Linked DNA regions of Homo sapiens: all the other regions are linked to region 1. Evidence: promoter capture Hi-C in 16 types of primary human blood cells and fetal thymus (Javierre and others, 2016). All regions are on one chromosome and are shown on one strand. The core of a region is centred on a gene start or on the middle of the fragment in contact, and the rest is flanking DNA. Distances in the headings are between cores, read along the strand shown.

What was found. Contacts are between HindIII fragments. The CHiCAGO score rates a contact against its expected background, and 5 or more counts as called.
Region 2: a fragment that was not itself captured here is called in contact with the fragment with the promoter of GJA3 in region 1 in 8 of 17 cell types (endothelial precursors, total CD4 T cells, fetal thymus and 5 more); the score reaches 7.7 in endothelial precursors.
Region 3: a contact is called between a fragment that was not itself captured here and the fragment with the promoter of GJA3 in region 1, in 1 of 17 cell types (M0 macrophages). The highest score is 5.5, in M0 macrophages.
Region 4: a contact is called between a fragment that was not itself captured here and the fragment with the promoter of GJA3 in region 1, in 4 of 17 cell types (M0 macrophages, naive CD4 T cells, fetal thymus and 1 more). The highest score is 7.9, in M0 macrophages.

What each region holds. Positions count from the first base shown.
Region 1 is chr13:20,159,415-20,162,495 of GRCh38, forward strand. GJA3 (gap junction protein alpha 3) reads right to left here and starts at 1,638. Exons shown (of 2, transcript NM_021954.4): 1 at 1,476-1,638. RefSeq lists silencers at 1,369-1,458, 1,619-1,698, 1,929-2,288. The HindIII fragment of the contact is 22,819 bases long and covers 1-3,081 here.
Region 2 is chr13:20,924,108-20,927,188 of GRCh38, forward strand. No RefSeq gene overlaps it. Among named protein-coding and RNA genes, the nearest start is that of XPO4, 23 kb to the left of the region's middle. The HindIII fragment of the contact is 1,667 bases long and covers 418-2,084 here.
Region 3 is chr13:20,844,028-20,847,108 of GRCh38, forward strand. All of the region lies in intron 4 of XPO4 (exportin 4), which reads right to left. Among named protein-coding and RNA genes, the nearest start is that of XPO4, 57 kb to the right of the region's middle. The HindIII fragment of the contact is 1,649 bases long and covers 599-2,247 here.
Region 4 is chr13:20,822,704-20,825,784 of GRCh38, forward strand. All of the region lies in intron 7 of XPO4 (exportin 4), which reads right to left. It overlaps LOC124903129 (a long non-coding RNA gene), which reads left to right and starts at 2,241. Exons shown (of 2, transcript XR_007063711.1): 1 at 2,241-2,426. The HindIII fragment of the contact is 555 bases long and covers 1,277-1,831 here.

The DNA.
Region 1 (3,081 bases), core at 388-2,887:
CCACTGCACTCCAGCCTGGGTGACAGAGCGAGACTCCATCTCAAAAAAAAAAAAAAAAAAAAAAAAAAAAAAGGCTGCGATAAACGTAATTTTTCGTTTCAAATGTAGTGTGTACACGTTATTTTAGCTAAGAGAAATGAATATAATAAGTTAAAATGTGAGTAACATTCAAGAAAACTGGGTCAAAAATATTTTCCTTATTGGCAAAAAATTTTGTTACCCGCCATTCTTTTAAGACAGCTTTCAGCCAGTTAACGGTTCCTGGTTAAGAAACAGTACTGTCTGATTTGTTAGAGTAGTACCGTTTCGTGAATTACTTTCCACTACAGCAACACATGCATTGCCCTTATGAGATGCTTATCTCGATATGAACCAAACTGCTGAGCAGGTGGAATCTGTGCCAAACTAGCTGATGTTTACTTTGAACACACTGATATTCGGAAAATAAATCCCTCTTTTTTCCTCTTTAATCTTTTAATGTTTGTCTTGCACATGGATGGACCGCCAGTGAAGTGATGCGCACATCATAAATCACCATGGTTTTTAATTCCTGGGTGATGAGACCCATAATTCGCTTGTCAGCTGTTTGTATAGAATCATTTTTAAATGGCATGTTTTGGAGACATCTTGATAAAATAAAAACTGGAGTTCTAAAGTTGCAGTCACATATTCACGAACCGAGAACTCTACATGGTAGGATGAATTTTGCTCACTAGTGTGGAGTCGGCAACAAAGCAAATGCAGCCGCGTCACTGCCGTTTGTTTTCTCAAGTCTCCTACGGGAAGGGGCTCGGACAGTGCTTTTCCACTCCTCTGCAAATTCCTTATAGTTGAACACATCATAACAAACATACAGGTCGAGAAATCTGGTCGTGGCATTAATAGCTACAGTGTTTCTTAAAAATAAAAAGTTTTAAAAAGTTTCTGAAAAAAATGTAGGCGAGCCAACCTTGTTTCTAAACAATCCCAACAGGACTTTTAGGAGCACGGCGATGCTGAATGCCCGTGGACGGCTGGGTGCGCGCCGTTAGCTGGCGCGGTGACATCTGCTTAGAGTTTTCAAGCATTTCAGCATCGCTAGGAGCCCTACAGCCTGACGGTCCGGGACAGCCCGGCTTCCTCCACCCGAGGGGGAAAACAACCCCAGGAAAACAACTTAAACTCGGCCTTGGACTGTCCATCAAGGGAAGCCAAACGAGGCGCTGCTCTCCAGACCTCCAGGAGCAAAGGAGGAAGATCAATTATTCCAAAAGTTTCTCACAAATTTCCCGAGCTCCCCACAACTTTTTGAAGAATCCTGAAAGAATCCTAGGGGGCTGGGAGCCGCACACGTGCCGGGGCTCGGCTTCCCAGCTCGGCAGTCTCAGCCCGCTGGGCTCGCCCGGCAGCTCCGCTGCGCCGCCGACCCGCCCGTCCCCGCCCCGCGCTGCCCTCGGCCCCTGTGCCTGGCCTCCGGGGCGCCCGGCCCGCCTTACCCCGCTCTGCCGCGGCGGCGACCCGGGTGCGTTCCTCCGGAGCAGGGCTCCCGGCCGCTCTGAAAAGAATTCCTTTCACACGTGCGGTGCTGCTTCACGCGTGCGCCCCGCGCCAGGGCCCGACCTCCCCGCCCTGATCGCCATCCCTGCAGCCCCAGTGTGCGCTGCGCCCGACGCCCCCAAGCTGCAGCTCAGGACGCCGCGCCACGCCCCCGCCGCCTCCGAACAGCCCCGCCCCGCGCGCTTCCCAGCACGCACACCTACCGCCCCCGCATCCCTACCCTGTACGCGCAGCCACAGCACTCGCCCGCGTCCGCATTCCACACCCTACCCCGCGCGCACGTCCATGCCTAGCGCCTGCATCCCCATCCCGCACCTGCGCGGGCCCTGGGGATGTGGACGCGGGGGCTCTTCCCTGCCGCCTACGCACTCCGGGGCATGCCCGCGCGGGACGTGAGAGGAGAGCCGAGGGCTGTTGGGGCGGGCCCGACCCGCTTGCGGGGCGCCCACCGCACGCAGATGCGCCAGCCCGCGCCCCGCTCGCGCCTGTCCTGGGCTTCGCAGGCCCGGCGAGGTAGCTGCTCTCCGGGCGCTCCCACGGTCGGAGGCGCGTGGGCGTCGGGCACCTAGGTCTCGCCCGCCTGCAGCCGCCTGGGGACGCGGGTTCCGGACGGCTGGCGCGGGGCGGGGCGGGGACCACCGAGCAGGAAGTCCCCGCGGAAGCGCCGCCGGGCACAGCGTGGGTGCTGTCGAGGAGTGGCGCCCGGGCGGGGCGGGAGGTTATAAATAGCGGCCGCCATCCTGCTTCTCTTCAGACACACTTAATTTAGCCGGCAGGCACACGGATGCTTATTTTTAAAAAAAGAACTTGTTTTATTGCGCTCGAGGTGACCGGGAAGGTGTCCCCGCGGGTCACTCGCTCCATCTGGTCCTGGAGACGAGATGCCAGGGCGAGGCCTAACCTGCCTGCTGGCGCCCAACGAAGATTTTAACGTTTTCTGTTCCCTTCGGGGTGGTTTTACCACGCTTGAGAGGGACGCCTACCGCGGAAGGCCGCGGACCGAGGGCGGCATCGCGTCCTTGTCTGCTGTCTGGGCACAGCCTAGAGAGGCCGCGGGTCCCCTCCCCGTCCCCCAAGGTCTGGAGTGGGGTTTGACCAGCCTGGGATATTAACAAATATCGGTGGACTGCATTTCGGTGATCATTCCACAAGCTGAAATGGCTTCAAAATCACCTTTATGAGTAATAAGTTTATTCCAGGAATGTGGCAAAATGCAAGTCTGATAGTTTTCGTGTCTTCATGGAGCAGCTTCCGTCGGCTGCCTTCGTTAGCGTTTAGATCTACTCGGATTAGCAGTTGGCTTGCCCTGAAAAATGCGTTTGTTCTGCTGAGATCTGAATTTAAAGTTATCCCAAGGAGGAAAAACTAAGCTCCTAAAGGCGCATCTAAAATATCTTCTCCCTTTGGGAACTTTGCGGTGTATGTATGGAGTAGGTAGTAGTTACGGAGACTTAGTTTTTAATTTTTAATTGAAAAATGCTACCTTTGAAGGTCTTAAAATACTTGAATATTTTTCTCATTTAAAACATTTTCTCTGAGAAGCAC
Region 2 (3,081 bases), core at 1-2,500, 760 kb after region 1:
TATGTGCTTTATACTATTTTTTATACTGTTATTCTACAAAAACTTGTGATCAATTTATGTAGAGACCAGGCCGGGAGCGGTTGCTCATGCCTGTAATCCTAGCACTTTGGGAGGCTGAGGCGGGCAGATCACTAGGTCAGGAGATCGAGACCATCCTGGCTAACACAGTGAAACCCCATCTCTACTAAAAATACAAAAAATTAGCTGGGTGTGGTGGCGGGCGCCTGTAGTCCCAGCTACTTGGGAGGCTGAGGCAGTAGAACGGCGTGAACCCGGGAGGTGGAGCTTGCAGTAAGCCAAGATCGTGCCACTGCACTCCAGCCTGGGCGACAGCGACACTCCATCTGAAAAAAAAAAAAAAGAAAGAAAGAAAAAAAGTTTATGTAGAGACCCCTTGTGGAGTTTACTGACATTTCAAGCTTCAGTTTCAAGCATTTGATATGCGCAAAATGGTGCTCAATACATACATTGAACATAAGCCTGCTCAGTATCTTTTTGTTGGTTTAACATGGAATCAACAAACAGTAGGTGCTCATATGGTTCAAGAACAGAGTAAGCCATACCATTCAAGGGTGTTTAGTTGTTTTGTTTTGTTTTGTTATATTTTGGAGAGTGGGAGACATAATGCATATTTGACTTCATAGAAATTTCTCAAATATTTCTTGTTTCTAAGTGACTGCGTAGGCTCAACAGAACCTTCCTGGAAAACATAGATATAAAAAGAAATCACTAAAAGAACACATTGCAGTTTGCAGGTGGCTTGACTGAAAAAAAAAAAGAAAAAGAAAACACCTACTTTCCTCTCCATGGAAACAGCATGCCAGAAAATTTTGTGGACCCTTGAAATGAGCACACATCTCACTTGCAAAAGCACAGCACCAGCGCCCTCTGCTGTTTCCTGGTTTGATTTAGAACTCAGAGAAGCTACAGTACTTTCTAGACTAAAATACCATGTAGAGTTCAGGATAATTATATTCTAGATTAGACATAGGCAAGCACATTTATATTAGTACATTCTGTAGTATATTCCAGAGTGAAGGAAATCAAATCATCAAATACATTTGCATCAGAATATTTCTGCATGCTCTCTTATTGTTTTAGTATCTGTTTTTGTTTCAACTATGATCATGTAACCTGTTATTGCAAAGAAATGACTTGCAACAGTTATCTATTTACATTTATATAGTATAAACTCCCGTGACCTAGAAGAGAAACATGCAAAAAAATCTACTCAACAAAATTTAACTGATCTCTGAAAAAGATATGCATGGAAGAGAGCAGAACAACTAAATTCCATTCAGGGAGTTCTAAAACCTTTTTTCCTTTTTCTGTATTTTCAGTAGATACTGGGTTTCACCATGTTGGCCAGGATGGTCTCAATCTCCTGACCTCGTGATCTGCCCGCCTCGGCCTTCCAAAGTGTGGGATTATAGGTGGGAGCCACCGCGGCTGGCCATGTGTGGGGTTTTATGGACGAGCTTGAGGAGGCAATGTCTGATTTACATAGGCACAAGAGGGCTGAGTGCGGTGGCTCACACCTGTAATCCCAACATTTTGGGAGGCCAAGGCGGGCGGATCACGAGGTCAGGAGTTCGAGACCAGCCTGGCCAATATGGTGAAACCCTGTCTTTACTAAAAATACAAAAATTAGCTGGGCGTGGTGGCAGGCGCCTGAAATCCCACCTACTCGGAAAGCTGAGGCAGAAGAATTGCTTGAACCCAGGAGGTGGAGGTTGCAGTGAGCCGAGATCGCGCCACTGCACTCGAGCCTGGGCGACCAAGCGAGACTCCGTCTCAAACAAACATAAGCACAAGAGATTGCTTGAACCAGGTGTGCCATTTGCAAAATTGAAATGATCTCTGAATCATTTAAATCAGCATAGTGTGTGAAGAAGCTGACCATCTCACCCTAATCTTTTATCATGAAGATGAGGTTTCTACCTGGCCAGCACCACGTTGTTGCCTGCTTCTTTACTGCACACATGGTTGACAAAGAAAAGAGAAGATGGATCCTCCATGTTGCACATGCCTGGCCCCCAGGTAGCTTTCTCCTATTAGCACAGCTGCAGGGATTCATCTGTGCAAGCTTTCAGCTTGCTTGTCTATGTCTGCAGCTCAATTTTACAGGCTGCTCTTTGTTAGGAAACAAACGATTTGGGGGCTGCTTTTCATTAAAAGGAAAGCCTTGCTGAGGACTCTTACCCTCACTATCTGCCTAAATAATTTCTTTCTAGCTCCTGTATCAATAACAGCTGCTATGTTATTGTTAGTGCTACAGGTTAGTTATCTGAATTAATCAGTAATATAATAAGAGGAAACTGTTATATGAAAAATGGGCATCCACTGGATAGTTTAAAACTAATGTTTTGGCTGGGTGTGGTGGCTCATACCTGTAATCCCAGCACTTTGGAAGGCCAAGGCAGGAGGATTACTTGAGGTCAGGAGTTTGAGACCATCCTGGACAACATAGTAAGATCCCATCTCTAGCAAAAAATGTGAAAATTAGCCAGGCACGATGGTGCAGCTGTAGTCCTAACTACTCAGGAGGTTGAGGTGAGCCCAAGATATTGAGGCTACAGTTAGCTATGATTGCACCACTATACTCTAGCTTAGGTGACAGGAAGACAGTGTCTCTTTAAAAAAATGAATAATAGGCTGGGCATGGCTCACACCTGTAATCCCAGCACTTTGGGAGACTGAGGCGGGCGGACCACCCAAGGTCGGGAGTTCGAGACCAGTCTGACCAACATGGAGAAACCCTGTCTCTACTAAAAAAAATACAAAATTAGCTGGGCATGGTGGTGCAATCCTAGCTACTTGGGAGGCTGAAGCAGGAGAATCGCTTGAACCTGGGAGGCAGAGGTTGCAGTGAGTAGAGATCATGCCATTGCACTCCAGCCTGGGCAACAAGAGCGAAACTCCGTCTCAAAAAAAAAAAAATTAAAATAATAATGTATGTGTGTTTTCTTGGTTGTTGTTGTTTTAAGACAGGATCTCACTCTGTTGCCCAGGCTGGAGTACAATCTCGTTGCCAGGCTGGGGCACAATCTCGGCTCACTGCAACCTCTACCTCCTGGGCTC
Region 3 (3,081 bases), core at 173-2,672, 680 kb after region 1:
AGAAAATCAGATATGACAAAATAAATATTAGCTCTCCTTTCTAAGTGGTCTGGTCAGTGTTAATAGTACTTCCTCAAATGCAGTTATACAAATCCATCTAAGACTTGAACTCAGGACACACTGTTCCTACTCAATAGTGGAATTCAAATGATATTTAAAAATAATAAATGTTGAAGGTATTATTTTGTTTAATTCGCAGAACAACCTATATCCTCATTTTACATTTGAGAGAAGTGACCTGGAGTACTTATCTAAGGCCAGCTGAGATTTCAACCCATGTTTGACCCCGTTCTGTTTGTAAAATGCATTCCCAAATAGATGAAAAGTGAAACAGATTTTATAGTGTCCAAAATATTATAGCCAGGTAATACCCAAAAGTTTTTTAAATAGAAAAATGAAGATTTTTCTTCTCATTGGTTCTATCCAACAGGCTCCTAATATCAACTCATTGATTTTATTCCCAGACTAAAACAGTCAAGGTACAAAGGATGGAAAGAGGATACAAATTATTTTGGCAACTTTCCAGGAGTTAAACAGAAATATGCACACTACCTCTGAACAACCGAAAGATTAAAGTCAAGATGATACTATTTATGCAAGCTTATCCAACAGCTGAACACTGTCATACCCACCCACCAACTGCAACATCTCTGTTCAGAAATGCTTCTGATGTCAGTACCTTGACCTTACAGATACTTATCTTGGCAAATCTTAGCAAATAACTTAATGATATTAAATTCCTAAAAACTGGCAGGAAATATCTGTTGAAGGTGAGAGGTGACTGATGGTTCCATGAGTGACTAATAGACTATCTGTCCATTTTGTATATGTCTGAAATTTTTCTTTAAAAAATGTAAACATAGGCCGGACACAGTGGCTCATGCCTGTAATCCCAACACTTTGGGAGGCCGAGGCAGGCAATCACCTGAGGTCAGGAGTTCGAGACCAGCCTGGCCAACATGGTGAAACCCTGTCTCTACTAAAAATACAAAAAAATCAGCTAGGCATGATGGCAGGCACCTGTAGTCTCAGCTACTTGGGACACCAAGGCAGGAGAACGCTTGAACCTGGGAGCCGAAGGCTGCAATGAGCCGAGATCGCGCCACTACACTCCAGCCTGGGCAACAGAGTAAGACTAAGTCTCAAAGAAAAAAGAGTAAACATAAAGTTAAATTCCTATTTGCCTCTTAATCTCAACTAAAACAAGCGTGACTATATAGCTAATATTTATGAAAGGCACAAAACCCCATATGTTAAAGAAGTTTCTCAGACTTTTCCACACCTGGAAGTAAATGCAAATTCTCTAGCGAATCTAGGGGTATGATCAAAGATGCCTTCTGCAACAATAAAAGTTCTCTGAATGTTACTGGTTTGGCATAAACACACACATTTTGTAATTTTACTTCAAAATATACATGACTTAATATAAAAATGTCCCTTCCTCCCAAAATCTTCAAGAAACCCATTTAACTGCCTTTGTATGGCCCCAGGCACTTGGAGACAAAGAAGCCAGGCACTAAGGCCTCTCACAGAAAAAAACAGTTGATCACATATTTCTGTCATTTTACTGTTTAAAGCGATCTCAAAATTCAGGAAGTACAATCCCTTCATTTTTTTAGTTAACAAAATTGTTAATTTTCAAAAATTTTCTTTTAAAATGATTAATGATTATAGTGCCAGCAATTAACATTAGACAGATACATTTAAATAACATGAGGATCAACTATAAACATGATTTTTAAACACAGCTAGGCTTTGGTGGGGAAAGTAGATGTTAAATCAAATTAATGAGATTCAGAGAAAAAATTTAATTCACAATGATCTAATGATGAATCCCAAGATCCTAGGATCCTGAAAACAATTTTTCATTGACACTTAGCTTTTCACTTATCCTTTCTAAGACTCTAGTCAATAAAACATTATAAACACATCTAAATGTTTGAGAAAACTTGTCTTACTAAAAAAGGAAATTAATTTCTGAATCTCAGATGAGATAACCTATTAAAAACAGAATTGACACATAACATAAAAACCTGCAAGCTGAAAGAACCTAGAAGCACTCATTAAACAAATTCTTACTCTTACAAATGAATAATCTATACTAGTTTTTCACAAGTAATTTACAGCTTTCCACAGATTGTGTCTTACTGCATTCACCACAAAATGGCTTATTTTAAAACTATCACCATATTCAAGTTTTCAGGAACATCTCTCTAATTAATGATCACAGCCATACGTACTCACAAAAGCTTTACTTTTTCACATGAAACAAACATTTCCCAAGATAACATGTGGTTTACGGTCAAGATGAGAAACAAATGAGTGAAGGAGAGGGGCAGGGCAACGACAGGTGAAAGCCCTGCTAAAGCTACTCCTGCAACTACAAACTTCATCAGACAAAACAAGGAGCCCTAGTGGCATGGAACTGCTTTTTAGTTACGGCAATGAATATATCCCTCCAAAACAGCAAACTTCCACACTAATGAAGTACAAATTCACCCATAAAAACAAGTACATTCTTAATCGATGAGAATTTAGAACAAAATGCACTTATAGACTTAGCCCCCTGAACACGTAAGAATCTTTCGTTTTTAAATAATTTTTTCATCCTACAAAAATATACTTCTATCTTAGAAAAACTAGAAATCGTAGAAAAGCACAACGAAAATAAAATTGTCTACAATCCTACCATCCAGGAGTTATTACTGTAACATTTATAGCTTTCCAATTTTTTGATGCACAGATATAAATTTTTATATATCATTGATATAAACCCAAATATAGTTTTACATTCTACTTTTCCACTTTATACCTATGAAATAAAAAGAAAAAAATTTAAAAACAAATGTGTTCTATTTAAATATACCACTTAAAGACTTAAGAAATACATAAAAATAAATTATTGTACAGCATTGTTAGAGGTATTGCAAGAAATCAAATATTCTGGCTTTAACTGTACCTACGATTATCAGCTTCCAAAGAACTAAAATTCAATAGGATATTTTCATCATTAAAATATACCAAATAGTATAAGCTCTCCTTAATTTGGAAATCCTGTAGGAATATGAGATTACCATCATA
Region 4 (3,081 bases), core at 304-2,803, 660 kb after region 1:
GAAGTAAACAGTTGTGCACTTAGAAAAGCAATATACCATTGAATCCCTAGACATTCATGCATTCATTCAACCAAAATATAATGAGCACGTTCTTTTATTAATTCTCAGTTTGCTTACAATTTGTTTGAATCTCAGTTTAACCTACATCATTGCTATTAATAAATGCTAAAAGATTTTGAATACCAAATGTAAATTATACTTAAATCCATTTAAAGCTAACCTATATTTTACTTCAGTGATACAATACGGACATGAAACACCTGGTAGAGTGTTTTGTATGAAGGGAATGCTCTTGAAATACTGCTCCCTAGTTTTATAGTATTAATATTCTCAGATGTTAAAGGTTTCATTTCTGTAATCTGACATATTAGAGCCAAGGAAAATTTAGTGAAGGAATATGATCATTATTAATCTTAATCCATCCAACACTTACTGTTGGATGTACCATTTTGTACTTGCCGAAGTACTTAACTAGCCCTTTTCTTTCCCACACAAAGTTCTCTCTCTATTTTGTAAATGTTGTGTAACATCAAACTCATAGTTTTAGGCTATATTCACTTTGACTAGGCAAATTGTTTCTAAATTACTTCAGGTCAGAACATTTAAGTACTCACTGGTATGCTGGGCCACAATGAACACTTAATAAATCCTTGTTCACTGAGTCCCTTAATCCTTAATCTCTGAACTTCTCAAGGTTCTAGTAATGAAATTTAAAACACTAAGTAATCTCTAAACATTACAAAGTTAGTTGATTTACTGACATGCTTAAAATATGCTATACTCTTTGGACTAGAACAAACCACAGCCCATAAGCCAAATTTGGCCCCCGCCTGTTTTTGTATGGCTGTGAGCTAAGAATGGTTGTGTTTTTTTCTTTTTTCCATTTTTGTATGGTTGGGGGGAAACCAATAAAAATAATATTTTGTGACCTGTGGAAATTACACAGAATTCTTTTTTTTTCCCCCGAAACAGAGTTTCACTCTTGTTGCCCAGGCTGGAGTGCAATGGTGCAATCTCAGCTCATAGCAACCTCCGCCTCCCGGGTTCAAGCAATTCTCCTGCCTCAGTCTCCTGAGTAGCTGGGATTACAGGCACGTGCCACGGCGCCTGGCTAATTTTTGTATTTTTAGTAGAGACGGGGTTTCGCCATGTTGGCCAGGCTGGTCTCAAACTCCTGACCTCAGGTGATCCACCGGCCTTGGCCTCCCAAAGTGCTGGGATTACAGGCATGAGCCACCACGCCCGGCCAACATTCACATTTTAATGACCATCAATAAGCTTTACTGGAACACCGCCGTGCTTATTTATGTATCATCTATGGCTGCTTCTGTACTACAATGGCAGTGTTGAATATGAACATATGACCTGCAAAGCCTAAAGTGTTTACTATCTGGCCCTATACAAAAAATGTCTGCAAATCCTTGGTCTAAAATACAAATATTTTTCAAACTATATTCCAATGTATTTTAAGTTTTATATAGTAAATTCCAAGTACAATAGACAAATTCATATATGCACACTGTCTAGTTCATAAACTTCTGAACACAACTCACTCTTATAAGTTCTTTATCCGAAATCTGTAATTAAATTTTTGTCACGATGCCTTAGAATCTAATCAGCATTTAAGCATGATATCCAGGGATATATTCTGTCAACAGATAGAATGTAATCTGGGACAATAAGAATACATCTCACAATCTTGAATGTTCATTATGGTCTCGAAGCGAGCAATCAGAAGAAAGAATACCCTCAATGAAATAGCTAATGAAATAACTAAAAATAAAGTTAAAATAAATAAATAACTGTCTTTCGAGACGGTGTGTGCTGTTCAAGCTTAATTTATGTTACCTGAAATATAAACCACATAAAACTAATAATAAATGCTTAATTTTTATACAATATAAATTCTTGCCTTTCTTCCAATGTCATCATTACAAAAGAGTTCCTCCATATCTGAACATGTATTTCAATATAAACTGTATCATAAAACGGAAAGCTGAATCACCACCTGAATATGGAAAAGGGACAGAGGGATAAGGGAAAGCAAAGCCCAGCAGGACGCCCAGTGAGATGAATGGCAAGGATATGCATCAAGAAAAGGAAGACAAGGAAGGAGAAGCAAGTAAGGAAGATGACGAATTCTACTGGAACATGTTAAATCTGAGATGTCTGTTGGCCATCCAAATTAAAACATCCAGTAAGCACTGGGATTATAAGGCTCTGAAACTCTGGAGCAGGCTGTGCTGAATATAGATGTAGGAGTCATCTGGGAACCGGTGCCTGAAGTCCTACGTGTCAAAGAGAGAGCCACAGGAAAGTGTACAGAGTCAGCAAAGTTGAGAACTAAGATAGGAATGCCAATATTTATGTGATGAGCAAAGAAGGAAGAGACCATAAGCGAGATCAAGAAGACTCTGGTCAAAAAGGTAGGAAGAAAACACAATGAAAGTGGGTTTTTTTTCCAAGACCTTATAGAAGGAAAAAAAATCAAGAAGTTTGTAAACTTCTATAGGGCAGAATGCAACCCAAAGTATTCCAACATATTTAAAGTCTTATGATTAACATATTTAAAGTCTTGCTCTTATGCAACAGTATACTGATGCTTATCCAAATCTAGCACAAGTGATATCCAGTGGAAAAGTGCTTTAAAGTAGGCAATAAATTCATATAACTAAAACTAAATTTAACCAAAGTTAAATAAAAAGATTAGCCATTGTCATTTTTAAAACAAGTAACAAACTTGTTCATAAACTGCTTAAGTGAAAATAGCTACAAACACAAAAATTGTTCAAATAAAGCAAAAAAGGGTTAACTTTCAAATTCAAGTTATTTGCGTGTGGTTGTTCACAGCTGACAGGAGCAGCTGTCTGGTTTGTCTAGACAGCTGTTCAGATCTGGTAGAGTTGTTTCCAGTACTGCCAGCAAGTTTTTCACCTTTTCAAAAACTGCTGGAGTGGAATCTACTTTCAGTCAAGTGCATAATACAAAGACTTGGACTTGGATTCGTATCAAAACAATTCCTGTCAGATGAGGCAGGCAACGGAATTTTAAAATTTAGTTACAATTATCTCTTTGATCTTG